Regions from separate parts of the Homo sapiens genome. Here all the other regions are linked to region 1. Evidence: promoter capture Hi-C in 16 types of primary human blood cells and fetal thymus (Javierre and others, 2016). All regions are on one chromosome and are shown on one strand. The core of a region is centred on a gene start or on the middle of the fragment in contact, and the rest is flanking DNA. Distances in the headings are between cores, read along the strand shown. Region 1 holds the start of H2BC12 (H2B clustered histone 12). Region 2 holds the start of OR2B2 (olfactory receptor family 2 subfamily B member 2). Region 3 holds the start of H3C12 (H3 clustered histone 12). Region 4 holds the start of BTN2A1 (butyrophilin subfamily 2 member A1). Region 5 holds the start of HCG11 (HLA complex group 11). Region 6 holds the start of HMGN4 (high mobility group nucleosomal binding domain 4). Region 7 has its middle 7.9 kb from the start of TRY-GTA3-1.

Region 1 (3,189 bases), core at 395-2,894:
CAATATGACCCTGCTAATCTCCAAATGCCTAAGGGCGGGCAATATCCCCAAAGACTAGAACAATGCGTGGCCAAATATGTTAAATACACACACACACACACACACACACACACACACACACACACACAAAATTCCCCTGTGAAACTGGCCTACATTTCTAAATCACAAATTTAGCCAGGTAACAACCTAGCTTAAAATTCGTGGACTCTTTCTTTCACTTGGTTCTTCCAAAAAAGTTTCACACTGCTCATCACCGGCATAGTCATTCTAGCCTCTAATCACACAATAAAACCCACCACCTAATTCTAACCCACCACCTAACACTTAGCTCAAACCCTGTGCTGCTGGGGAAGTTCCCTTCTCCTCTACTCCAACTTCTTGCTTCGGGGCGGACTGTCTCTAGTCTGTCTGTTGTCTCCCCTCTGAATCTACTTGCTTTTCATTTTCCTTTTCTATAAGCTTTCTTGTCAAAAGGAAAAATTACTGATTGGACCAATTGACGCTGAACATGCCTTAAAAACTAGTAAACTATTCCAAAAATCTCCGTGATGATTTCATGTTCCGTTTCTTCACTCCTGAGAAAAGCTGTGCTCCTCCCCTTACCCTTGCAGACTATCCTGCCTGGTGGTCTGGCATCTTCCCGATGTCCCGTGGGCTGCAGAGATGGAATCAGGGGGTGAGGGGGAAGCAAAGCAAGGCAGAGCTGGGTACAGCCTAGAAGAGGTTAAATAAGGTAACTGCTCGAGCGAAAGCCATACGTACTGGAACGCCATCGGGAACCAAATTTACTAATATATAAACTCACGTTAGAACGCCATTACATGGTGGAAAGTACACGTGACACAATAGGCTTTCAACAAGTTCTAACAGGAAGTCACAGCACTCGACACAACGGAAGTATCCATTTTCGCGCCAAGAGCCAGGAAGCACTTTCTGTTAACACAAGTTTCCTGCACATCCCTAATTTTTTAGGCGCCATATTCCTCACTCAGTACTAACAAAGTGTATGTGGCTTCTCCTTAGCCAGACTCGATTACAAGCACTGCATGCATTACTCAGTGTGATAAGATCATGATAATCCCTTTAAAAAGATCGCCCGAATTTAAGCCTGGATTAGGAACACGTGTTTACAGCTCTAATATCGATAATTTAAGTGGCTCTTAAAAGAGCCTTTGGGGTTGGGCTTTAAGACGCTTACTTGGCAAGTTTACTTAGCGCTGGTGTACTTGGTGACGGCCTTGGTGCCCTCGGACACGGCGTGCTTGGCCAACTCCCCGGGCAGCAGCAGGCGCACGGCCGTCTGGATCTCCCTGGAGGTGATGGTCGAGCGCTTGTTGTAATGCGCCAGGCGGGAAGCCTCACCCGCGATGCGTTCGAAGATGTCGTTGACGAAGGAGTTCATGATTCCCATGGCCTTAGAGGAGATGCCGGTGTCGGGGTGGACCTGCTTCAGCACCTTGTACACGTATACGGAGTAGCTCTCCTTGCGGCTGCGCTTGCGCTTCTTGCCGTCCTTCTTCTGCGCCTTAGTCACGGCTTTCTTCGAGCCCTTCTTGGGCGCGGGAGCGGACTTCGCTGGTTCCGGCATGTTGAAGGCGAACTACGAGCCTGAGACGAGCAGCAGATCGAGAAAACGGGAAGTAATGGGAGCAAGGTACCAGGAGTCGTTTTTATATAGGACCTCTCATGCAAATAAGGTGAAGAGTGAAAGTCCTGTATCTGATTGGTGGTTATTAGGGTGACGTCAGAGGTTAGTTATACCCAATCAACCCAATCTGCAAATCCAAAAGACGTACTTCCATTGGTTAAAACTAAGCTACAACCCTAACCAATGACATATCTTCTTTTTCGCGCCCAATAGTGTTTATAAAAGGCGCTGCCTTTCCTCGTTGGCTACTTTCAGTAAGTTGTGACCAGTATGTCTGGACGTGGCAAGCAAGGCGGTAAAGCTCGCGCCAAGGCCAAGACCCGCTCTTCTCGGGCTGGGCTTCAGTTCCCCGTGGGCCGAGTGCACCGCCTGCTCCGCAAGGGTAATTATGCCGAGCGGGTTGGAGCCGGCGCGCCAGTGTACCTGGCTGCGGTGCTGGAGTACCTGACCGCTGAGATCCTGGAGCTGGCTGGCAATGCGGCCCGCGACAACAAGAAGACCCGTATCATCCCGCGTCACCTCCAACTGGCCATCCGCAACGACGAGGAGCTCAACAAGCTGCTGGGCAAAGTCACCATCGCGCAGGGTGGTGTCTTGCCCAATATCCAGGCCGTGCTGCTGCCTAAGAAGACTGAGAGCCACCATAAGGCCAAATAAGGAGCGAGGTTGTGAAAACTGGAAAACAAAGGCTCTTTTCAGAGCCATTCTACACTGTCTTAGAGAAAGCTGGACACAGTCATGTTTGTTTCACTTCATGTTTGCTTCGCTAGATAACATTGTAAAGCGCTTCTTTCGCGGTTGGGCTGGAGCAACTCTTTACAATGTTTCTAAATTAACCCACTGGAAAGCAATGAAGACCCAAAAGTTGTTGTAGGATACTCCGGAGAAGCTTATTCAGCAGGGGTAATAAGTGAAATCAAACGTACAAATCCCTGAAATCTATTTACTAATTCCAGTGGTTTTTTTTTTTTTTTTTTTTTTTTTGAGATGGAGTCTCCAACAGGCTGGAGTGCAGTGGCGCGGCGCGATCTCGGCTCACTGCAACCTCCACCTCCCAGGTTCAAGCGATTCTCCTGTCTCGGCCTCCCGAATAGCTGGGATTACAGGCACACACCACCACGACCGGCTAGTTTTTTTGTATTTTTAGTGGAGACGGGGTTCCACCATGGTGGCCAGGCTGGTCTCGAACTCCTGACCTCAGGTGATCCGCCCGCCTCGGCCTCCCAAAGTGCTGGGATTACAGGCGTGAGCCACAGCGCCCGGCCTCCAGTGTAATAATTCTATTACATTAATAGTGTTGTCAAACAGCCATAAAAATGGGATATACTTGCCATTCTTTAAAGGCAAATTTTGCAATTCTAAGTATTCTTGAAAAGCAAGAAAGGGCAGCCTGATTCTTAAGTGGTCTAACTCTTAAGAGTAACTTTACCCAGGTGATGAAAGTCTAGTGACTCATTTGCATTAGAATTTGATTCCGATGGAAGGAGAATATGGGATGCAGAATTTCCTGAATCCCATATTTGTAAATCCTTAGTCCCATT
Region 2 (3,189 bases), core at 217-2,716, 770 kb after region 1:
TTTAAAAGGCCTATAATTTGAGAATTCCTTTTTTTTTTATTAACACCCTTGCAAGCAACCTCTCAAAAGCTCCCTTTACATCTTTGTTTCTATGTGTGTGTGTGTATGTATGTATGTGTGTGTGCGTGTGTGTATTACTGAAGAGATGATTTCTGGATCAGAAAGGTCTAGTTTACACTGAATTGTACAAACATTGATGTAAAGTGTGACAACCCTTGAAAATGTTGTGATTACAGTTTTTGGTGCATTGGAAGGCCAATTCTGGGGGCTTGTTCAATGAAAATGTTTAGGCAACAGAAACAAATATAGCTTTTTGTCAAGGAAATTTTCTTTGAGGGAGATTACAATAGTTTTCTATAGTAATGACAAAAATAGGACAACTTGCGGAGAAGTTAGTAAGGTAAGTAAGCACTGTGTCTTTAGCAAAGCTTATCATTTGCATATTTCTTATTTCTTGATTAAGAAGACTCTTTGCAACCAACCTTTTAAAGGCTTCCTTTACCTCTTTGTTCCTAAGTGTATATATAAGGGGATTCAGCATGGGTGCAATGATTCCACAGAAGAGAGAAACCATCTTTCCCCGGTCTTTGGAGCTGGGTGAAGGTGGTTGCAGGTACATGGAGATAGCTGTACCATAAAAAAGTGACACCACAATTAGATGGGAGCCACATGTCCCAAATGCCTTTCGTTGACCTTCAGCAGACTGGATTCTCAACACTGCTTGGACAATAAAAGCATACGATATAAGGATGAGTGTCACGGGTATTAGAAGGAATAGCACACTGATGAAGAATAGTTCAGCCTCATTTGCTGTTGTGTCAACACAGGACAACTTGAGCAGAGCAGGGACTTCACAGAAGAAGTGATCCACTTCTTTGTGACCACACAGTGGCATCTTAAGTGTCCAGGTGGACTGTAATACTGAATTGCTAAAGCCACTAATCCAGGATGCAGCTGCCAACTGGAAGCAGAGCCTCTGGTGCATGATAATTGAGTAATGGAGAGGCCGACAAATAGCTACAAACCTATCAAAGCACATGACGGCCAGGAGAAGACATTCTGTGGAACCCAAGGCCAGGAAAATGAAAAGCTGGGCCACACAGCCACCATAACTGATTACTTTCCTGGTGTTGCATATGTTTACCAGCATTTGTGGAACTGTACTTGTGGTATAGCAAAGGTCCAGGAGTGAGAGATTGCTAAGAAAAAAGTACATAGGGGTGTGGAGTTTGAAATCCACATGTGACACAAGAATTATTGTCAGATTGCCAAAGATTGTCAAGATATAGGAAAACAGAAACATCACAAAGGGTGGAATCTCTAGCCATGGTTGATCTGAGAAAACTAACAGAATGAACTCCTGTGGGACACTCTTATTTACCCAATTCATGTTAAATGGTTCAACTCTTCGTTCTCTGAAATATAAGAAGTCAGGAAGTTAACAACACACTTCCTGATTTTGTCAGCTATAATCATTTTGCTATCAATTTACATAAAATTACAGACTGATCCAATTAATAATGTGAAAAAAGTATTGATAAAAATATAAATATTTATCCATCCAAGTATTTAAAAAGTGTTTATATATCTGTAACAGCATATTAGCAAATTGAATCGAATTTCAAGAATCTTTTTTTTTTTTTTTTTTTTTTTTTTTGAGGCAGAGTTTCACTCTTTTGCCCAGGCTGGAGTGCAATGGCGCCATCTCGGCTCACCGCAACCTCCGCCTCCCAGGTTCAAGCAATTCTCCTGCCTCAGCCTCCCCAGTAGGTGGGATCACAGGCATGTGCCACCACCCCGACTAATTTTGTATTTTTAGTAGCGATGGGGTTTCTCCACGTTGGTCAGGTTGGTCTCAAACCCCAACCTCAGGTGATCTGCCCACCTCAGCCTCCCAAAGTGCTGGGATTACAGGCGTGAGCCACTGTGCCCAGCCTAATTTCAAAAATCTTAAGCCATATTTTCAGTTTCCAAATTCACATAATGTATCCTTTGATATTTTACTGTTTGTAAATGTATTTTTCTCATTCTTCCTACCTAGATATCTACTGTGAGGTAGATGTAGATACAGTTTCCTGTCATTTGAATTCATTCTAATTTCTCTTCAAGGCCAGCGAGATTCCCTGATTGTAGAAATCAGTTAACATTAGTTAAAGCCACCTCCCATTATTCCCCTTCCCTCAAAAAAGCCATGTAGACAGTATCTAGTAAGTTATCAGACACAATTTAAGGAGACATATCCTTTTCGTTCTAGAAGCTCATAGAATTTGTATAGATTCCTTAGTAATATGATATTTGAAGGTGACAGGCTGGTCTCATATCCCTACCCTCTCTAATTAGTTACATTCATTATATTGGAATGCTTCTAACCCTTTGATCTCCACAATTCTCATTTGTAAAATGAAGATGATACAGTGGTTCCCCCTTTATCCATGGGGGATACATTCCAAGACCACCAGTGGATAGAAACCTGAAACTGTGGGTAGTACCAAACCCTATATATACTATGTTTTTTAATACATACACAACTATAACGTTTAATTTATAAATTAGGCACAGTAAGAGATTAAGAACAATAATTAATAAAATGCAGCAAGTATAACAGCTCCAGACCCCCATTTATTGTAATACATGTTATGTGAATGTGGTGTCCCTCTCTTTTTTTCTCTTCAAAACACCTTATTCTAGTGTACTCACCCCTCTGTGTTCTGACGATCTGATAACCGAGATGGCTACTCAGTGACTAACAGGCAGGTGGATGCTTTAAATCAAGCTTGTCCAACCTGAGGCCCACGGGCTGCATGCAGCCCAGGATGGCTTTGAACGCAGCCCAGGATGGCTTTGAACGTGGCCTAACACAAATTTGTAAACTTTCTTAAAACATCATGACATTCACTGATGATTAAAAAAAAACTCATCAGCTATTGTTAGTGTTGCTGTATTTTATGTGAGACCCAAGACAATTCTTCTTCTTCCAATGTGGCCCAGGGAAGCCAAAAGATTGGACACCCCTGCTCTAAACAGAAGGATGATTCCCATGACTGGGTGGGACAACACAAGACTTCATCAGGCTATTCAGAATGGCATGTATTTAAAACTTATGAATTGTTGACTTCTGTAATTTTCCTTTTAATATTTGCAGACCATGGTTGACTGTGGGTAACTGAAATTGTGCAAAGCAAAACCACA
Region 3 (3,189 bases), core at 383-2,882, 740 kb after region 1:
TTCAACAGTTTCCTTTTTGCTAGTCATGTGAAACTACTGCATGGAATCTTCTATTCTCTTGTGACCACCCTATATTATTTCTCTCTCAGAAGGGCCAAATAATTGACGTTTTTATGCCATTCTGAGACTACAGAAAGAAAAAAGGTCTTGAGACTTCTGGGGGTTTGGAGGAGGTGGTGACACATGTTGTAGGAGGGTGAAGGAGGAAGGGCAAAGGCACCAGGGGAGGAAAGGCAAAGGTTTTCTTGTTATGTAGATAAAGTCTCTCAGGTAATCGCAGAATAGCTGACAGCCTGTGACAAAGTAGTTTTCTCTCCTTTGAGTCAGTCTTAGATTCCTCTTTAGGCAGGAAAGGGAGCCTCAGAGAAAGCCAGTACTTGCATCCACTGTTTACTAATGTAGATTTCCTTGATAGGTATACAATTCTTTTACAAAAAAGAGCTTTTCAGAGCTATTCCTATTTCTGCAGTTTCTCTGAATAGCCATCTTGAAATATGACAAAGTATACTTCGGGGTGGCATATTTTAGTCTCCCACAAGAGCCACTCCAAACTAAGATTCAGAGATAAAATCAGGTTCAATAAATATTTTTTGTGTACCTAATGTGTTTTCTGGGGCACTGTCCAAGGCCCTAGAATATATTACTGCATTTAACCTTTAAAGCAGTCTCTTGAGGAAAGTAAAGTGAAGGAAATAAAAATATTTTACCCCAAAAGATATTTCTTTGCCCTATTTTGAAATGGCTGCCTCAGGGCCCGGAGACCGATGAGGCCCTGCAAATCAGTCTTTTGTGGGGGAAATTTCCATTTGTTGCCAGGCTTTCCCTTTCTAGTCCTTTCCTGGATCTAGGAGAGATTAACTGAGAGTCTGATCCTTTTTTATTTTTATTTTTTAAGAGACTGTCTTGCTCTGTCACCCAGGCTGGAGTGCAATTGTGCAATCATAGTTCACTGCATCCTTGAACTCGTGGGCTCAGGCAATCTTCCTGCCTCAGCCTTCTGAGCAGCTAGAACTACAGTTGTGCGCTGCAACACCCACCTTTCTTTTTATTTGTTTTTCGTAGAGACAGGATTTTGCTGTTACCCAGGCTGATCTCAAACTCCTGGGCTCAGGGAATCCTCCTTCCACTGCCTCCCAAAGTGGAGGGCATGAGCCACCACGCCCACCCTGACAAGAGACATTTACCATCTATTTTTTCTGAGGACTACTAGCTATGTGTTTTCATCTACATAACAAGACCCGCCCCCCTTGCTAGCCAAGTCTCTTCCTTTCTCCCTCCTATAATCTGTTTTCCCAGGTTCCAAGCTTGCACTCTTTCTATAATCTCAAGGTGATATATAAACTTCTGTATCTCATTGGTGGGTGGGTCCTCATTTTGAAGTCTCCCGTGTCTATGTGCTAAATCAACCGGCCTCATGTCCGTGATTTTCAGCAAGCTTCCAGGGGACCCAAGGGCAGTGCCCGTTTCAGTTAAAAATGGCATCTCATTTAACCTGTAATCTAATTGTTAGTTATGGGGTTCTGGAGATGCTATCCCCAAAGGACAGCATGTGCAGGAAGGACTTTGGCTTTCCCCTTGAAGCGGATTGACCTTGGATATAGATTTGCTGACTTTCCTCGGAGAAAGTGAGACCCTTGTGAGATGGGTCACAGAGGACAAGTGAAAAGGACCGTCTTAGAAGACAAAGGACACTGCAAGGAATCAGAATGAACAACCCTTGACGACTTTCCGCCAGTTTATCCCTGCTTTAAAGTTGATTTAAGACAGTCGACCAATGGTGTGACAGCTATCCTCAGTGAGAATGTAAGTGGCTCTGAAAAGAGCCTTTGGAAGCTTGGAAGCAATTAAGAAACCCAAGATAGAGCAGGGGATTATGCTCGCTCGCCACGGATACGACGCGCAAGCTGGATGTCCTTAGGCATAATAGTGACACGCTTGGCGTGAATAGCACAGAGGTTGGTGTCTTCAAAGAGACCCACCAGATAGGCCTCGCACGCCTCTTGCAGCGCCATCACCGCCGAGCTCTGGAAACGAAGGTCGGTTTTGAAATCCTGCGCGATTTCTCGCACCAGGCGCTGAAATGGCAGTTTGCGGATGAGCAGCTCAGTCGACTTCTGATAACGGCGGATCTCACGCAAGGCCACGGTGCCTGGCCTGTAGCGGTGGGGCTTCTTCACACCGCCAGTCGCTGGAGCGCTTTTGCGCGCTGCCTTGGTGGCCAGCTGCTTCCGCGGTGCCTTGCCGCCGGTAGACTTGCGAGCTGTCTGCTTCGTCCGGGCCATAGTTGAGAAAGCTATGCTCTGAAAGCAAGCAGCTGAATGAGCAGTGGCTTCTACCAGAATTTATAACGATGATCTGATCCTGATTGGTCAGAACTGTTGTAGGAAAAACCTGGTTGGTTGTTAATACTATCTTCATTTGGTTCCTGCCACTTTTTTTTTTTTTTTTTTTTTTTTACCTGACGGCTTCTAATTCTGTCGCCTAGGCTGGAGTGTGGTGGCGCGATCTCAGCTCACTGCAACCTCCGCCTCCCGGGTTCAAGCGATTCTGCCTCAGCCTCCGGAGTAGCTGGGACTACAGGCACTTGCCACGACGCCCGGCTAATTTTTTTTTAGCAGAGAAGGGGTTTCACCATGTTGGCCAGGCTGGTCTCAAACTCCTGATCTCAAGTTATCCGCCTGCCTCGGACTTCCAAAGTGCTTAGATTACAGGCGTGAGCCACTGCGCTCGTCCTCCGCGCCACTTTTATTTATTGTTTTCAACCAATCATGTTAAGATTCCCCCAATGAAAAGATAATCTGACCTAGAATTTGTGTAGGTCAGTCGTAGTCTTAAACTCATTTCCAATGGGTCATTTTTCCTATTTCGGATCGTGTAAAAATACATACAGTAGAACAACGTATTTGCTAGTATTTCCAAAAAGTAGTTCCGTTTTGTAACTGCTTAATTAAATCTTTTAATGACTGTACCAAGACCCAGAACAAAAACAATTTAAACTTAGGCTGGCACATTCTCTAAAACACCAAAACTTTAGTTTTGTCCAGTGTGGTGTGGGGAAGGAGTTTGATAGGTGCTTGACTAAATGATACCAATAAATGGTATCTGACCTCTTCATTAACTGAGTTTAATGCAATCCAATGGCTGATTGGATTAATTATGTAAATTATTGCTTAATTTCATTAGCATGCG
Region 4 (3,189 bases), core at 424-2,923, 690 kb before region 1:
GTTTGGAATTCATATACATACAGTTCTAATACTGATGTATTTACCCTCATAAGCCACTCAACCCAGAATCTTATTTGAATTATAATCCAGAAACATCAGGTGACGTGTGAGACTACTGTATGAGAAAGAGACAGTTTAAGGGTCAGTCCAATGGAAAAAAGAGTTCTCAGAGCTTTCTTTAGCTTATTCTCATCAAAGAGCTTTCTCTGCAGAAGGAACCTACTGGTTCCTCCTTTCCAGTCCTAGAAATCCTGACCTAGAGTGGCTTAATCCTGCTAGCACCTCTCTCTCGCACTCTGGTGCCAAATGACTCCAGGAACTGGGCCATGATGTGGTGGGAATGACCTTACCCTGAGCATGTCACTCATGCATTGAACAACAGCTAAGAGCAGAGCTTAGAGCTTAGAGCTGGGCCCTGTAAGGTGAGAGGAATCACATCCTGCAGAAGTCTGTCCTGAGAAGCAGGTACTCCTGTCACAGCAGAGACACAGTGGATACCTGAGTAACAATAATACAAGACAGGACGTGGGAACAGCAAAAGATTTGGGTGTCAGAAGAGGCCGAGAACACTTCAGGCAGGAACATTCAGAGTTGTTCTTGGAGGAAGTAGGCACGAAGGCTGGGCAGGATTTCACGGGGCAGAGATGGAGCAAGCAATTGAAATGAAAGCCATGGCATGGGAAAAGGAGCACTGGCCACAGGGAGTGCAACGTTGTGATGCAAGGCCACTGTGGAGCCATTGCTAGCGTATTAACTGCAAAGTTTTGAATTGAATCAGAAGGGAATTGGAGGCCTCCAGACTAAGCATTTAGACACTTGAGGGGAATATTGACAACTGGGCCTCGGGAAGATTATTCTGGAAGATATCTTTACAATTACAAGATTGGAGCCTTTGGGAGAGGGATGATGTTTACGGGAGGATGGTATGTGTGCTAGTGTGTGTGTCTGTGTGTGGCTCTTGGACCCAACCTGACCACCTACTATCTAGAAGGTGAAGGACAACTAGAAAGTTTTGCTCAATTCCATCTTCTGCCACCACCAGAATGCCACCTCCCTGAGGGAAAAGGTTTTTGATCCTCAGTCAGGATTCTCAGCACCTCTTATCCGATAGCTTTGGAATGAATGGCAAGGCCTTCATAACAGCCACTGCAACTGCTGTCTCCTTTCCTTTGCTACCCCTCCCGCTCCAGCCATGCCAGCTTCCCCCAAGCCCTCCTGCGCTCCAGGCCCAACCTCCAAAGCCAGCAACTTGAACAGGAGTCCTCTGGCTTTGGAAAGGGGGCGGCTTACGTTTTCCTGCTCATGTTTCCTCCCCAGCAAAATTGCCCTCTACATAGAGAGGCCTCTCCTTGTGGACACCAGCAAAGCCACCGACCTCAGTGACAAACCCCAGGGAATCTCCCCAAGGAATCTCAAAGCGAGAGAGAGAGAGAGAGTCTTGAGAGAGAAAGAGAGAGAGAGAGAGTCTTGCTTTCGAACAAAGAAAAAGGAAATAAAAAGACCCGATAATCTCAAAAGGTTATTTGCTGCTTGAAATTTGTGATTCGGTGTATTCTACCCAGCAACTGCTGAGAAATAAGGTTCGACACCATTGGCTGGTTCACTCACACCCGGCCAATCCTGGGCTCTAAAATACTTAGGGAACTCTTGGGACTGTGGAAGCCCAGGAGACCAGATTTCGTTTCCTGCATCTCCAAACATGGCGACCTAGGAGAAGGGGAAGAACAATTTTTTCTCCTCTTTTGGGAAGGTTTGTGTCTAGTAGTGCCTGTGCCCCTGGGCAGATTGGAGAGAAGAGGGACGACTGGAGAATCGTCGAGAACCAGCGGAGAAAAGAAAAAGCAACGTTTAATTCTAGAAGGTAGGAAACGGAGGGGAGGCGCTACAGCTCCGGGGTGGGCACAGTAGGTGGGGGAAGCGGGGTCTGCTGTGGACACGAGACGGGGTCCTGGGACAGGGAAAGCCCACCGGTGGGGAGGCGCGGCCTCGCCTGTCTTTGCCTCAGGCTGCCCGGCCTGGGTCGCGGGGAGGAGGAAGTGAAGGGAGGAGGGTGTGGTAGAATCCAGCGACAACTGAAGAAACTGCATTCTGGCCAGAGAAGTGAGCCGAGGAGGGCGGAAAAAGGCCCCCTTGATCTTGGCATTGATGGCTTACTTCATGGAATGTTTAAGGAATCCCTCTCTCGGGACATACCTGAGCCTTCGGATGCAGGGGACTCCCTGAAGTTGGGGCACTGATGAGACCTACTTGAGTGACGGGAGAGGTTGGGCCCGACCAGCACTGAGGTGCCAAGACTCCTAGGCTGATTCTCCTCTGTAACCCTAGGCCTCCTGTCCCTGCCTGCTCTGGGTGCTCATGGAATCAGCTGCTGCCCTGCACTTCTCCCGGCCAGCCTCCCTCCTCCTCCTCCTCCTCAGCCTGTGTGCACTGGTCTCAGGTAGGGATGTGTGCCACTTGCTGCTGTCACCTATCAGAAAGGAACATCAACCCTGTAGTCTGCAAAGGGAAAGAAAGAAGGACTGTGGAGTTGTTGACTTACCCTTTCATTCTGAACATGTTCATTGAATTTATACCAGCACTGTCCAAAAGGAATACAGTGAGGCACAAAGGCCGAGTGCATGTACAATTGCAAATTTTCAAAAAAAATTAAATTTTACTTTTTATTTTAAAAAGTAAAAAGAAACATGAAATAAATTTGTATACTATATTTTGTTTCGCCCCAAATAATCAAATACGAATATTTAAATACTTAGTTAATATACCATATTACCAATGAGATAGTCAACATTTTGAAATTTTAAATCTTCATAATCCTGTGTGTATTTTACACTTACAGCTCATTTCAGTTGGAACTAGCTAGTGGATATGTGTCCTATTGCACGGCTCAAGTTTACAGTACACTCAGGCACAGCACTAGATTGGGAAATCGAGGAAAATCCCCTCAAGGGCACAGGGTGGACAGAGGGTGCTCAGGGCAGGTTCCTCAGGGTTTCCTTCATGAAGCAGAAGCACACTTTATAGTTACTGCTCCCAGGGGTGCTGTCGACTAGCCACAGCTACTGGTCCCCAGATTTCTCAGCCCAAAGAGACCCTATGGCCATGGAAAAAATAAGTTTGTCCCTAGAATATCTGCTTCCTTTCTTGCCTTAGAGATGTGATGGCTGGTGTCTTTGTCTGACTCTACCCCTT
Region 5 (3,189 bases), core at 294-2,793, 630 kb before region 1:
TGTCCACAGAAGCAAAATGACTTATCTAAGATTCTCCAGGTAGTGACCAGTTCTAGTTCTGTCTGAAATTCGTACTCAGGTCCCCTGACTTCCAGTCAGTGATATTCCGACCATGGCATCCTGACTGCTAACCCTTGCTAACAAAATTTGAAGTAGGTCACCTCTGACCTTTGTTTATGTTTAGAAAAGTTGTTGTGCTCAAGGCCTTCTATCAAGTACCCGCTGCGCCAGGTTTAGTAAAATACATAAGCTACTCCCCATTTTTGTTGTTGCTGTTTTTGCTTTTGCTTTTTAAAGTTTTTATTACAGTATAACATCCACACCGAAAAGTGCGCAAATCCTCCATAAACTCCGACAGAGAGGCAAGACAAGCCAGGCTTCCCACGCTCCTGTCCCCTCCACCGGCCCTGCCAAGGGTAACCACGTGCTGGGAGATTTGCAGCACAACGCAAAGGAGAAGGATTAGCGAGCACCTTGTTCCAGCAAAAACTGGAGCAAGCCTAAAACTTCCTGGGAATTAAGTGTAAATTTAAGCCAGGTATTCTAGTAATGTTGAGTTCAACAGGATTGCCATTATTTTAACTAGAATTCAGTTGAGAGCAGAGCGCCATCGCCGTCTTCCGCCTTAGTCACTCGGCCCTGGGCTGGCTCACGCCCGCCCCGCCCCCTCCCCGCCCCTCCCACGCCCGCCCCGCCCCTCCCACGCCCCCGCCCCCGTCCCGCTCCCCCTACCCCGACCCGCCCTCCCTCGCCCGCCGCCCCACCCGCCGCAGCCCTCCCCGCGCAGCCTGGGAGTGACTCGGCGTTCACTCGGGAGACGCCGCTCTGTGGCCCGGACAACCGGTCCTATGCAGCGCCGTCCGAGGCAGTTCGCGGAGAGGCGGCTTACCTTTTAACCCAGGAATGCCCATATCTTGAGAAAAAGAACAACAAGGGGGTGGGCGGGGGTGGGGACATGGGGTAGGGGGGCGGCTGGTGGATGGGGAACTAATAGCGTTTAGACAAGAGACAGAAGTGAGTCCTGAGCACAATGTAGCATAAGCGCGTCAGGATGGCCGAGCGGTCTAAGGCGCTGCGTTCAGGTCGCAGTCTCCCCTGGAGGCGTGGGTTCGAATCCCACTCCTGACAGTTCGTACTTTTAGTATTTAGACACAAATCGAGTTTAAGTTTACGCTACGTTTTCCTACCTGCTCTTTGTGACATGGTCTTCTCTCTTTTTAAAAAATAAATTTTCCGAGTTCCGGAATAAAAGCACTCTTTGTTTTTATTAGCCACTCCAAGGACAGCAAAAAGTACTCTGTACTCCGAAAATAATTTCAGAACCTACCGGTGTTTTGAAATCTCACCTCCTTTTTCCGTTTCTCCTCTGTCTCTAGTTGTCTTTCCCTCTCCCTCCTTCACAGGCAGAGTTGAATAAATGTTACTCTTCAGTTCATGGCTCATTACATTACTGCAGGGCTCCTCTTTATTTAGTTATAGTTATCTTTTTAATTCCATTTCTTCAGTCTCATTCCCCACCTCATCCTTACTCCCCGTAAGAAATCACTGCAAGAGTTCCGGTCTGGCAGAGAGCGCGGAGAGACGCAGAGCGCGGGCCGCTCCTCCAGGGCGCTCCAGGCCCTCCGGCCCCGGGTCGGCGGGTGAGCTAGGGGGCGCCCCGGGACAGGCCGCGCCCTCTGCCCTGCAGATACCGGAGGCCTCTGCTGTGGCTGCCCACTGGCTGGGCCCAGGCCTTGAAGCGGTGGCGAACGTCTCTTCCCTACCCTACCTCGGTGACTGATGGCGGCGGCGGCCTCTCCCAGTCCGGACCCTGCCGGCCGTCGGGTCTCCCGGCCCAAGCCTGCCGGGCCTGGACGAAACCCCCGCCGAGCAGCCTGGACGCAGCGCCTTTGGGTGGCGGCGGGAGTAGCGTGCCGGGAAGCATGGCGGCCGCTCGAACGCCGCGCGGCGGAGGGCGTTAGGGCATGGAGGGCCCGGGAAGGCGGCCTAGGGACGCAGGCAGGCTCGGCCGCCTCTTCAGGCCACGGAGCCGCCAGATCTGGGTCCCGGGTGACCACTCTGTCGCCATTGGGCGAGACCTACCTAGTCCTAACGACAACGGACAAAGGCCTTAACGGGCCTGGGAGGTGAGCGAAGTCCCGAACGACGACGGGTGGAACGGTTAGCGGCGATCGGGCGGTTGGTCTCCGTACTACCAGACCTTGCTGTCGGAAGAGACAAATGGTAGAATGACAGGCCACGTTTGGCCCGTTGGAAATGCCCTCCATCCTCTGGGAAGATTCACAGGCCGTTTACGGAAGGCCTGTGTATATAATATGAAAAAGCTGCTCTCAACTCCACCCCAACCTTTTAATAGAAAACATTTGTCACATCTAGCCCTTCTAGATGGAAAGAGGTTGCCGACGTATGATAGAGTTAGAAAGTCACACATCTTGTAAATTCTCATTTGTTTAAAAGAAATCATAGAAAATACATGTCTTCCGGAGTTGACTTTTGGAAACTGAGTTGTTAGACGGCCTCTAGAAGCGATACGTTCACGTTTGTTCAGTGGGTTAGATGACATGGAGCTCGAAGACCTGAGAAGGAAAAAAAGAAGGTTCTATGCTAGACTGGTCATATTTAGAAGACATTTTCATATTCTATCCATTGTTTTGTGTGCATTCGCTTCCTCACTACTATGTATGTAGTTGACAATGCTAAGCTTTTTTGAAATGTCTATTCTTTTTAGATATTCTGAAGTGTCTGATATATGTTAAAATTAGAGGTAGTAAAACCACATTTTGTAAATATCTTTTTGTTACAATTCATAGAAATGTTGTTTTTTGGGGGGAATGGCCAAATCACCTGTTGAGTAATACTCATTGTGTTTGTGCAGTAGTTCAGGGGAGGAGAGAGGAGGGGGAGGTGCAGAGAGCTCTATGCCATCCTGCTTACAGCGAGGCAAGATGAATCACTATGTCTGTGCATTTTGTTTTATCTATGTATATAATGTACATAAAGGACAAACGAGTCCTAATTTACAACATCTAGTCTTTCTGGATGTTAAAGAGGTTGCCAGTGTATAACAAAACTAGAGTTAGTAAACTAATATATTTTGTACATTTTGTTTTACAAGTCCTAGGAAAGACTGTCTTCTGAAAATTTGAGCATTCTTGCCCACTGGGTTGATGGAGATGGGAAGGGTTCTAG
Region 6 (3,189 bases), core at 217-2,716, 610 kb before region 1:
TCCCAGGATCTCCTATTCCTCTCCACTGAGCACCGGCCTCCTCAACATAACTCCCAAGCCTGCTTCCACCTCCAGGCCTTTTCCCTAGCGATTTTTCCCTGTTCCAGATCACTCATTTCCCCGATATCAGCATTTATCCCTCATTCATCACTTTCACTGCTGGCCTTTCCTATCCTCTTTCCCTGTTTTATTATTATTTTTCTCCAATCGCTTATCACTATTATTTTGTTTATTTAATGCTTTATTATCCGCTTCCGCCACTGCCATGTAATCTTGAGGGCAAGGGTCTCTCATGTTTTCTTCACCGTTATCTGCAGTGCCTTGAACACTAATACTGGTTGAATGAACGAACGCATTAATGGAGCGGTGATATTGGGGCAGAGAGGATGCAGGGCTTGCTTTTCACCGCCATTTTTCAGCCGGCAGAGACAGACCGAGAAAGGAATGAAGGCCACGGGGCGTGTGCAGAAGTAGCTACCAGAGAGTCCATGCGCTGCGAGCCTGGACCAGCGGGCAAACGCGGCTTACAGGCGTTCACCCAGATATTACGGGTACAACCTAGTTTCTTATGAAATACCTCGCCCCTAAGGTACGCGCAGGGCCAGTGGCGCAATGGATAACGCGTCTGACTACGGATCAGAAGATTCCAGGTTCGACTCCTGGCTGGCTCGGTGTAAGCAGGGTCGTTTTACAACTTTCTGACTCCGCAGGAGTAAGGAAATTCCTGCAAGATAAATTTGCCTGGAAGACTCAGAAGCAAGAGGGGCAGCTCCCGACAACATATGGGGTTATCATTTCTTTGCGGAGCATTCTGCCACTGACCACGTGGTAACGCCAACTACGCCAGAGAAACGCTCGCCCTACCCAAGTTGTGCCCAGCCTTGCCTGGCCATTTTGGCCGAAGAACGAAGGACCGTTCAGAGATTAAATTAAAGTCTCTATTGTGTTCTTCCCTATTCAGTCATTTGTAGAATAAATTCTATGGCTTCAGTTTGAACACTGGAGGGGCTGGGTCTGAGCTTTTCATTGGTTTTTCTGGTTTGAGAGGTCGGTACAGAGACGCACGCGCACATCAGCAAAACACGCACTTGGAACGAAGAAACACGGAACTAGGCAGGAAGAACTATTTACTCTGAAAAATAAGCCCTTAGTGGGTTTCCGTAGTGTAGTGGTTATCACGTTCGCCTCACACGCGAAAGGTCCCCGGTTCGAAACCGGGCGGAAACACGTTTTTTTTTCCTCATCTTACTACGAAATTCTTCCAGTGTGTATCTTTTAAAGACTTTTTCAGGCTGTCATAAATTTCCTGTCTTCTTGTCTTGCTAGATCGGGGCAGCAGTGCTTAGGGCGGGCCTCAGAGGCTCACACACGTATCGCCAGGGGGAGAACCAGCTCTCTCCGGCTTGGACTCGGGGCGGCTCCCCGCCTGCAGCCCCGGAAGCGCATCCTCACCTTCCCTCGCCTTCCTGTTCCTGGCGGAGCCGGGCTCCGCTCGTCTTCTCTGTCTTAGGGCTGGTGCTGGCCCTGCCCACGCCTAGGGCTCCGGCGCGTCACGGGCCTCAGCTGGGATTCCCGCGCCCCTCGGACGGCCACGAGACTCGGGTAAGTGCCTCACAGACTTTGTGCGCTACCCCGGAAAATGAGGGGCGTGGTGGGGGGGGTCCCGCCGCCCTCCGTATACTTAGGACCCTCCTGCCAGCTGGCCCCGGTCATGATTAGGGGCCTTGGGCCCCGTCAGCCCCGCCTGTCTTCCCGTCTCCAGAGTAATCGCAGCATCTCTCCTGAGCTCCGAGTGTGAATCCCTGGGAAAAGCTGAATCCAGAGGTGGGGTCACAGAGAGCCGCAGGCCCGACCGGGATGAGAAGTCCTAATCGGCGTTCTAGGGGCGTTCTAAAAGAAGGAAGGAAGGGGATTTGAAAGGATTGCTCCCGCAGGGCTGTGGCCTTAAAGAGGTGGTGACTGGCAGGTTGGACTGACCTGCCGTGGGCTCTCCCTTCCTCCCCAATTTACCTTCGAGAAACCCTCGTTGAGGAGACACCCAAGGGCTGAGTCCTCCTCCACTTTGACCTTTTGCTATTCCATCACAAAGAAAAAATGGATCCCAAAGTTAAGAAATGGACCAGCACTTGTTTAGAATCAGGACTGGTGCCTTGGTGTTTGGCCTCTTACCTCTGCCACATGGCTTGCTTACAAGTTAATCGGATTAATCAAACGCTTTTATGAGAAAGTTTTGTTGTGTCACCTGGCAGCCTCGGGTGTTCCCTAAGAGGGATTTCTTTCTTAGATGTATTACTACTTTTTCTAGGGATTAGCCAAGCCTAGCCTCTCAGATCATATTGCTCCAGGTTCCCTCAAATGACTAATAAGAATGTGATGTGTTTGTTTTTGTTTGTTTGTTTTTGAGACGGAGTCTCACTCTGTTGTCCAGGCTGGGGTGCAATGGTGCGATCTCGCTCACTGCAACCTCCACCTCGATTCTTGTGCCTCAGGCTCCCGAGCAGCTGGGACTACAGGTGTGTAACACTACACCCGGATAATTTTTGTATTTTTAGTTGGAGACGGAGTTTCACCATATTGGCCAGGCTGGTCTCAAACTCCTGACCTCAAGTGATCCGCCCGCCTCGGCCTCCCAAAGTGCTGAGATTACAGGCATGAGCCACCGCGCCCAACCGAATGTGATATTTTTATGACCATGAGAAAAGAAGGGCTGCATTCTTTGGTGGGTCCGCAAAATTAAAAAAAAAAAAAAAAAAAGAAAAGAAAAGAAAGAAAAGGACAATGTTAATGAGCTGTTTTCTTTTTATCATTTTCTTAAACAGGCTGCTTGGGTAGACGTTGACTTGAAAGGTCCATTCTTTTGTCATCTTGCTGGTTCCCTTAACAAGACAACACCTTGGCTAGCAAGATAATATCTTGGTTAGCAAGACAATAAACTTGGGCATGTGCTCAACAGCAACCTGTCTAATACATTTTCATTTAAAATCCCCTCTGTACTACTCAGAAATATAAGCAAGTTATTATGGTGCCCAGAAAGGGGGCAAAGGTTCCAGGGTCCTAGGAGATGACAAGGATTTATCCTCTTCATCTTTCTCCGATCCCAGTTAGCAGGAATACTTTAGCCTGGAAGGTGAGTGTGCCCCTAACCAACCTTTACAGATGGGTGACTGTTTGGGAGCTTATGGCTCACTC
Region 7 (3,189 bases), core at 217-2,716, 560 kb before region 1:
ATTGTTTTTCTCCCCAGGCTTTAGTTCTTAGTCCTCTTCTGTTATCTATTTACACCCAATTCTTTCAGAGTCTCATCCAGAGTCATGAACTTAAACCTGTTTCTGTGCAGATAATTCACATTATTATATCTCCAGCCCAGACTCTCCCGCAAACTGCAGACTGATCCTACTGCAGTATTCCTACCTACTCATCATCTCCACTTAGAAGCTAATAATCATCAAAACTGGACTCCTTATCTCATTCCCTCCCAAATCTGTCGCACCCACAGTCACCCTCACTCCATTCCATCCTTCACAGTTCTCTGGTCAGATACCTGGGAGTCAGCCTGATTCTTCTTTGTGTCGCATTCCGCATCAATTTATTGGGTGATTCTGTTGCTTCTATCTTCACTACATATCCATGATCTTACAGCATCTCACCACTCTTACTGCCACAACTCCTTTTGGAGACATCGTAATTTTCGCCTGAATCAATCTTGCCTTCCTGCTTCTGCCCCTGACTACTTACCTATTCTTCCACAGCATATTGGATGACCTTTCAAAAACCTACTGTTTTTTTTCTGGGGTGGGGTGGGGTGGGGTGGTTTATTCAAGGATTTAGGGGCAAGTGGTTTAATCCAGAAAACACTGGTGTGGAAAAAACAAAGTGAAAAAGAAAAGAAAAGAAACCAAGGAATACCACTCTGGGCTATTCAAGCTTAATCCTTCTTAACCCCTCTTAATCCTCAGAGGAGGAACTCTGGGAAACAATGTTGAAAATATGCCTAAAAATGATCAAACTTCAAGGGTAAGGGAGCTGGGATAGTCATACACCATTTACCAAAAATTGCTTGGGAGCTATTCTAAACCTCCAATTCAGTGGAACATCTGGCCTGCCATGAATGTGGGCAAAGTGTGATCAGCAGGTGGGGAAAGCTCTCATGCGATAAGATGCAAGTACCGGCAGGTAGAAATCAGCCTGGTGGACATTGACATGGTGAAGGTCAGGGGGATATGGGGGGGGCTTCTTGGTGGGATGCCAGAGGTAATATGGTGAGGCTCCAACATCTTCAATGTGGAGTTGATCCTTGATCCTTGGTCTTCAAAGTTGGTCAGTGGCCAGGTGCCGTGGCTCATGCCTGTAATCTTAGCAGTTTCTGAGGCAGGTGGATCACTTGAGGTCAGGAGTTCAAGACTAGCCTAGCCAACATGCTGAAACCCCGTCTCTACTAAAAATACAAAAATTAGTCGGGCGTGGTAGCACATGCCTGTAATCCCAGCTACTAGGGAGGCTGAGGCAGGAGAATCACTTGAACCCGCGAGGTGGAGGTTGCAGTGAGCCAAGATCACACCACTTCACTCCAGCCTGGGCAAAAGAGCGAAACTCCATCTCACGTACACACACAAAGTAATAATAATAGTAATAATAATAATAAAATAAAAGTTGGTCAGTGGTCAATACATTTTCCAGGTCATTCCTGGGAGAATAAACAGTTTAAAAAAGGCTCAGATATCTTAGAGAGCCTGAGATGTTCCTAGAACTGAAACCAGTGTTGTACAAAAGGAACACTGATGTTGAAGAACTACTGCTGGATTAGAAGGAGTTAGGAGTATTAGGAAGCCCTACCTGCCATTGGGAATAAAAGTAGAAGATAAGACAATGATCAGGTTCCTTGTAGCTATTTTAGCCATGAAAATAGAAACTTTAGACCAGATACAGCATGCATATATAAGATAGTCATGTAACTTTCCATTGAATGTGATGCTCAGTCTATTTACTAATAATAATTAGGCATAAAACTCAACATTAAGAAATGATCTCGCATGGTAATTTTCAGGTGCAGCAAGGATTTAAGAGGCTAAGATTTTATGATTCATGCTACAATTTTCTATTTGTCTTAGGGAAGATCTGTCCCCAAAGAAGCAAATGGTTGGTAGAAGTTATGAGGGAAAAAGGAAAGCAATCTGAATTGTGGGTGCTGTGGCAAGGGAGAAAAGGAGAAAAAGGACAGTCACTATGGCTGCATATGGGGCCAAGAGACAGAGCAGGTGAAATGCCTCTTGTGTCTAATAATTATTTTTGCTGTAATCCTAATGACTGAACTTTCCAGGCTTGAAAAACTGCCATAGTATTTTAAAATCCCAATCTTAGATCTGTGTTCATTCTAATTTTGAGATTTTTACTACTTTTAGCTCAATACATTTAAATGTTCTAGAATTCTACCACAAAGAACCAAAGAAACTTTAGACATTTTCCTAAGCTTATCATAATATAAAGTGATATTAGGCTGTACGTAGACCACTGGCAATACTTCACTAAGCTTTTTCTTGGGATATGTTGATATTAATATATTAAAATATATATGTATATTTAAAAACCTGTTTTCTATGAACACTTTTAGCATACCTCTTAGTGCTCAAGTTCACACAATTTTGTTGGATATTTACCTAGAAAGGAATCTGGTCTTCTTAATGAATTCATACTTCTGAATTTCCTGGATGTATCCATCTGGATACATTAGCTTATGCTGCAATAATAAGTAATTCCTCTCCCCCACGCCAAATCATACTGGCTTATAACCATAAACTCCTATTTCTGTGTCATAAAAATCTATCATGATTTGGTTGGTGGTCTCTATTTCACTAATAAACCCTGATTTGTAGATCCTCTACAATCAAAATAATCAATTATTTTGTCAAGGTAAGGTAAAAAGGGACCCGATAGATTGCTCACTGACTCTCAAACATCTGGAAGGGACACCTCATTTTCCAGAACAAATGTGTCATATGTCCACATCTATTTCTGAGGAAGTAAGAACTACAATCTGCACATGCTACGTTACTAGAAGACTGTGGATCAGAATGACCATATGACCATCACAGAGCACCATAGGGCCACCAATTATTCTGGCTGCTCTCCTTCCTAAAAGCCAAATACATTTAGCTTTTCCCTATGGGAGACAACACAAAGGTCCATTAGAACATGGGCCAGTTGGAAGTCTAGCATCTCTGAACCATGGTGGTCCCTCCATTGATGAAGGATTGCAGTAGTTTCTATGTTGATTTTCATAAAAGCAGCTAGGCAAGTTTCCCAAATCTGAAACTTAGTGCAATAAAAAATATTGTACATAATATGAAAACATCAGAACAAAAGCATTGGAGACAAAATATGGTGAAAACAAACGTATTGTTGTATAATACGTTAGAACA

What was found. The method cuts DNA at HindIII sites, captures the fragments that hold promoters and counts their contacts. A CHiCAGO score of 5 or more calls a contact.
Region 2: a contact is called between the fragment with the promoter of OR2B2 here and the fragment with the promoter of H2BC12 in region 1, in 14 of 17 cell types (neutrophils, monocytes, naive CD8 T cells and 11 more). The highest score is 16.3, in neutrophils.
Region 3: a fragment that was not itself captured here is called in contact with the fragment with the promoter of H2BC12 in region 1 in 16 of 17 cell types (total CD8 T cells, naive CD4 T cells, non-activated CD4 T cells and 13 more); the score reaches 25.4 in total CD8 T cells.
Region 4: the fragment with the promoter of BTN2A1 here is called in contact with the fragment with the promoter of H2BC12 in region 1 in 11 of 17 cell types (M0 macrophages, naive CD4 T cells, activated CD4 T cells and 8 more); the score reaches 14.8 in M0 macrophages.
Region 5: a contact is called between the fragment with the promoter of HCG11 here and the fragment with the promoter of H2BC12 in region 1, in 11 of 17 cell types (M0 macrophages, activated CD4 T cells, naive CD4 T cells and 8 more). The highest score is 11.8, in M0 macrophages.
Region 6: a contact is called between the fragment with the promoter of HMGN4 here and the fragment with the promoter of H2BC12 in region 1, in 15 of 17 cell types (M1 macrophages, M2 macrophages, naive CD8 T cells and 12 more). The highest score is 14.3, in M1 macrophages.
Region 7: a contact is called between a fragment that was not itself captured here and the fragment with the promoter of H2BC12 in region 1, in 3 of 17 cell types (M0 macrophages, M2 macrophages and M1 macrophages). The highest score is 7.8, in M0 macrophages.

Annotation. Positions count from the first base shown.
Region 1 is chr6:27,145,211-27,148,399 of GRCh38, forward strand. H2BC12 (H2B clustered histone 12) reads right to left here and starts at 1,645. Exons shown (of 1, transcript NM_001312653.2): 1 at 1,151-1,645. The coding sequence starts at 1,588. The coding sequence ends at 1,208. H2AC12 (H2A clustered histone 12) reads left to right here and starts at 1,896. Exons shown (of 1, transcript NM_080596.3): 1 at 1,896-2,352. The coding sequence starts at 1,919. The coding sequence ends at 2,305. MIR3143 (microRNA 3143) reads left to right here and starts at 2,416; the gene lies at 2,416-2,478. RefSeq lists enhancers at 543-652, 1,072-1,988, 1,243-1,702, 2,033-2,282. The HindIII fragment of the contact is 2,078 bases long and covers 458-2,535 here.
Region 2 is chr6:27,910,930-27,914,118 of GRCh38, forward strand. OR2B2 (olfactory receptor family 2 subfamily B member 2) reads right to left here and starts at 1,467. Exons shown (of 1, transcript NM_033057.2): 1 at 256-1,467. The coding sequence starts at 1,390. The coding sequence ends at 317. The HindIII fragment of the contact is 2,345 bases long and covers 427-2,771 here.
Region 3 is chr6:27,888,511-27,891,699 of GRCh38, forward strand. It overlaps H3C12 (H3 clustered histone 12), which reads right to left and starts at 2,316. Exons shown (of 1, transcript NM_003535.3): 1 at 1,805-2,316. The coding sequence starts at 2,282. The coding sequence ends at 1,872. RefSeq lists enhancers at 618-1,262, 1,263-1,907, 1,549-1,848, 1,908-2,552, 2,069-2,288. The HindIII fragment of the contact is 398 bases long and covers 1,434-1,831 here.
Region 4 is chr6:26,456,282-26,459,470 of GRCh38, forward strand. It overlaps BTN2A1 (butyrophilin subfamily 2 member A1), which reads left to right and starts at 1,674. Exons shown (of 8, transcript NM_007049.5): 1 at 1,674-1,861; 2 at 2,326-2,437. The coding sequence starts at 2,356. RefSeq lists enhancers at 1,285-1,544, 1,705-1,864. The HindIII fragment of the contact is 11,033 bases long and covers 1-3,189 here.
Region 5 is chr6:26,520,163-26,523,351 of GRCh38, forward strand. It overlaps HCG11 (HLA complex group 11), which reads left to right and starts at 1,544. Exons shown (of 1, transcript NR_026790.1): 1 at 1,544-3,189. It overlaps TRL-CAG1-7 (tRNA-Leu (anticodon CAG) 1-7), which reads left to right and starts at 1,046; the gene lies at 1,046-1,128. It overlaps LOC107986583 (a long non-coding RNA gene), which reads right to left. Exons shown (of 4, transcript XR_001744057.3): 1 at 1,347-3,189. RefSeq lists silencers at 650-1,249, 1,480-1,999. The HindIII fragment of the contact is 10,867 bases long and covers 1-2,699 here.
Region 6 is chr6:26,536,900-26,540,088 of GRCh38, forward strand. HMGN4 (high mobility group nucleosomal binding domain 4) reads left to right here and starts at 1,467. Exons shown (of 2, transcript NM_006353.3): 1 at 1,467-1,602. It overlaps TRR-ACG1-2 (tRNA-Arg (anticodon ACG) 1-2), which reads left to right and starts at 599; the gene lies at 599-671. TRV-CAC1-6 (tRNA-Val (anticodon CAC) 1-6) reads left to right here and starts at 1,155; the gene lies at 1,155-1,227. RefSeq lists enhancers at 1-417, 1,678-2,087 and silencers at 451-744, 1,138-1,187. The HindIII fragment of the contact is 7,010 bases long and covers 1-3,189 here.
Region 7 is chr6:26,583,374-26,586,562 of GRCh38, forward strand. No RefSeq gene overlaps it. Among named protein-coding and RNA genes, the nearest start is that of TRY-GTA3-1, 7.9 kb to the left of the region's middle. The HindIII fragment of the contact is 1,543 bases long and covers 696-2,238 here.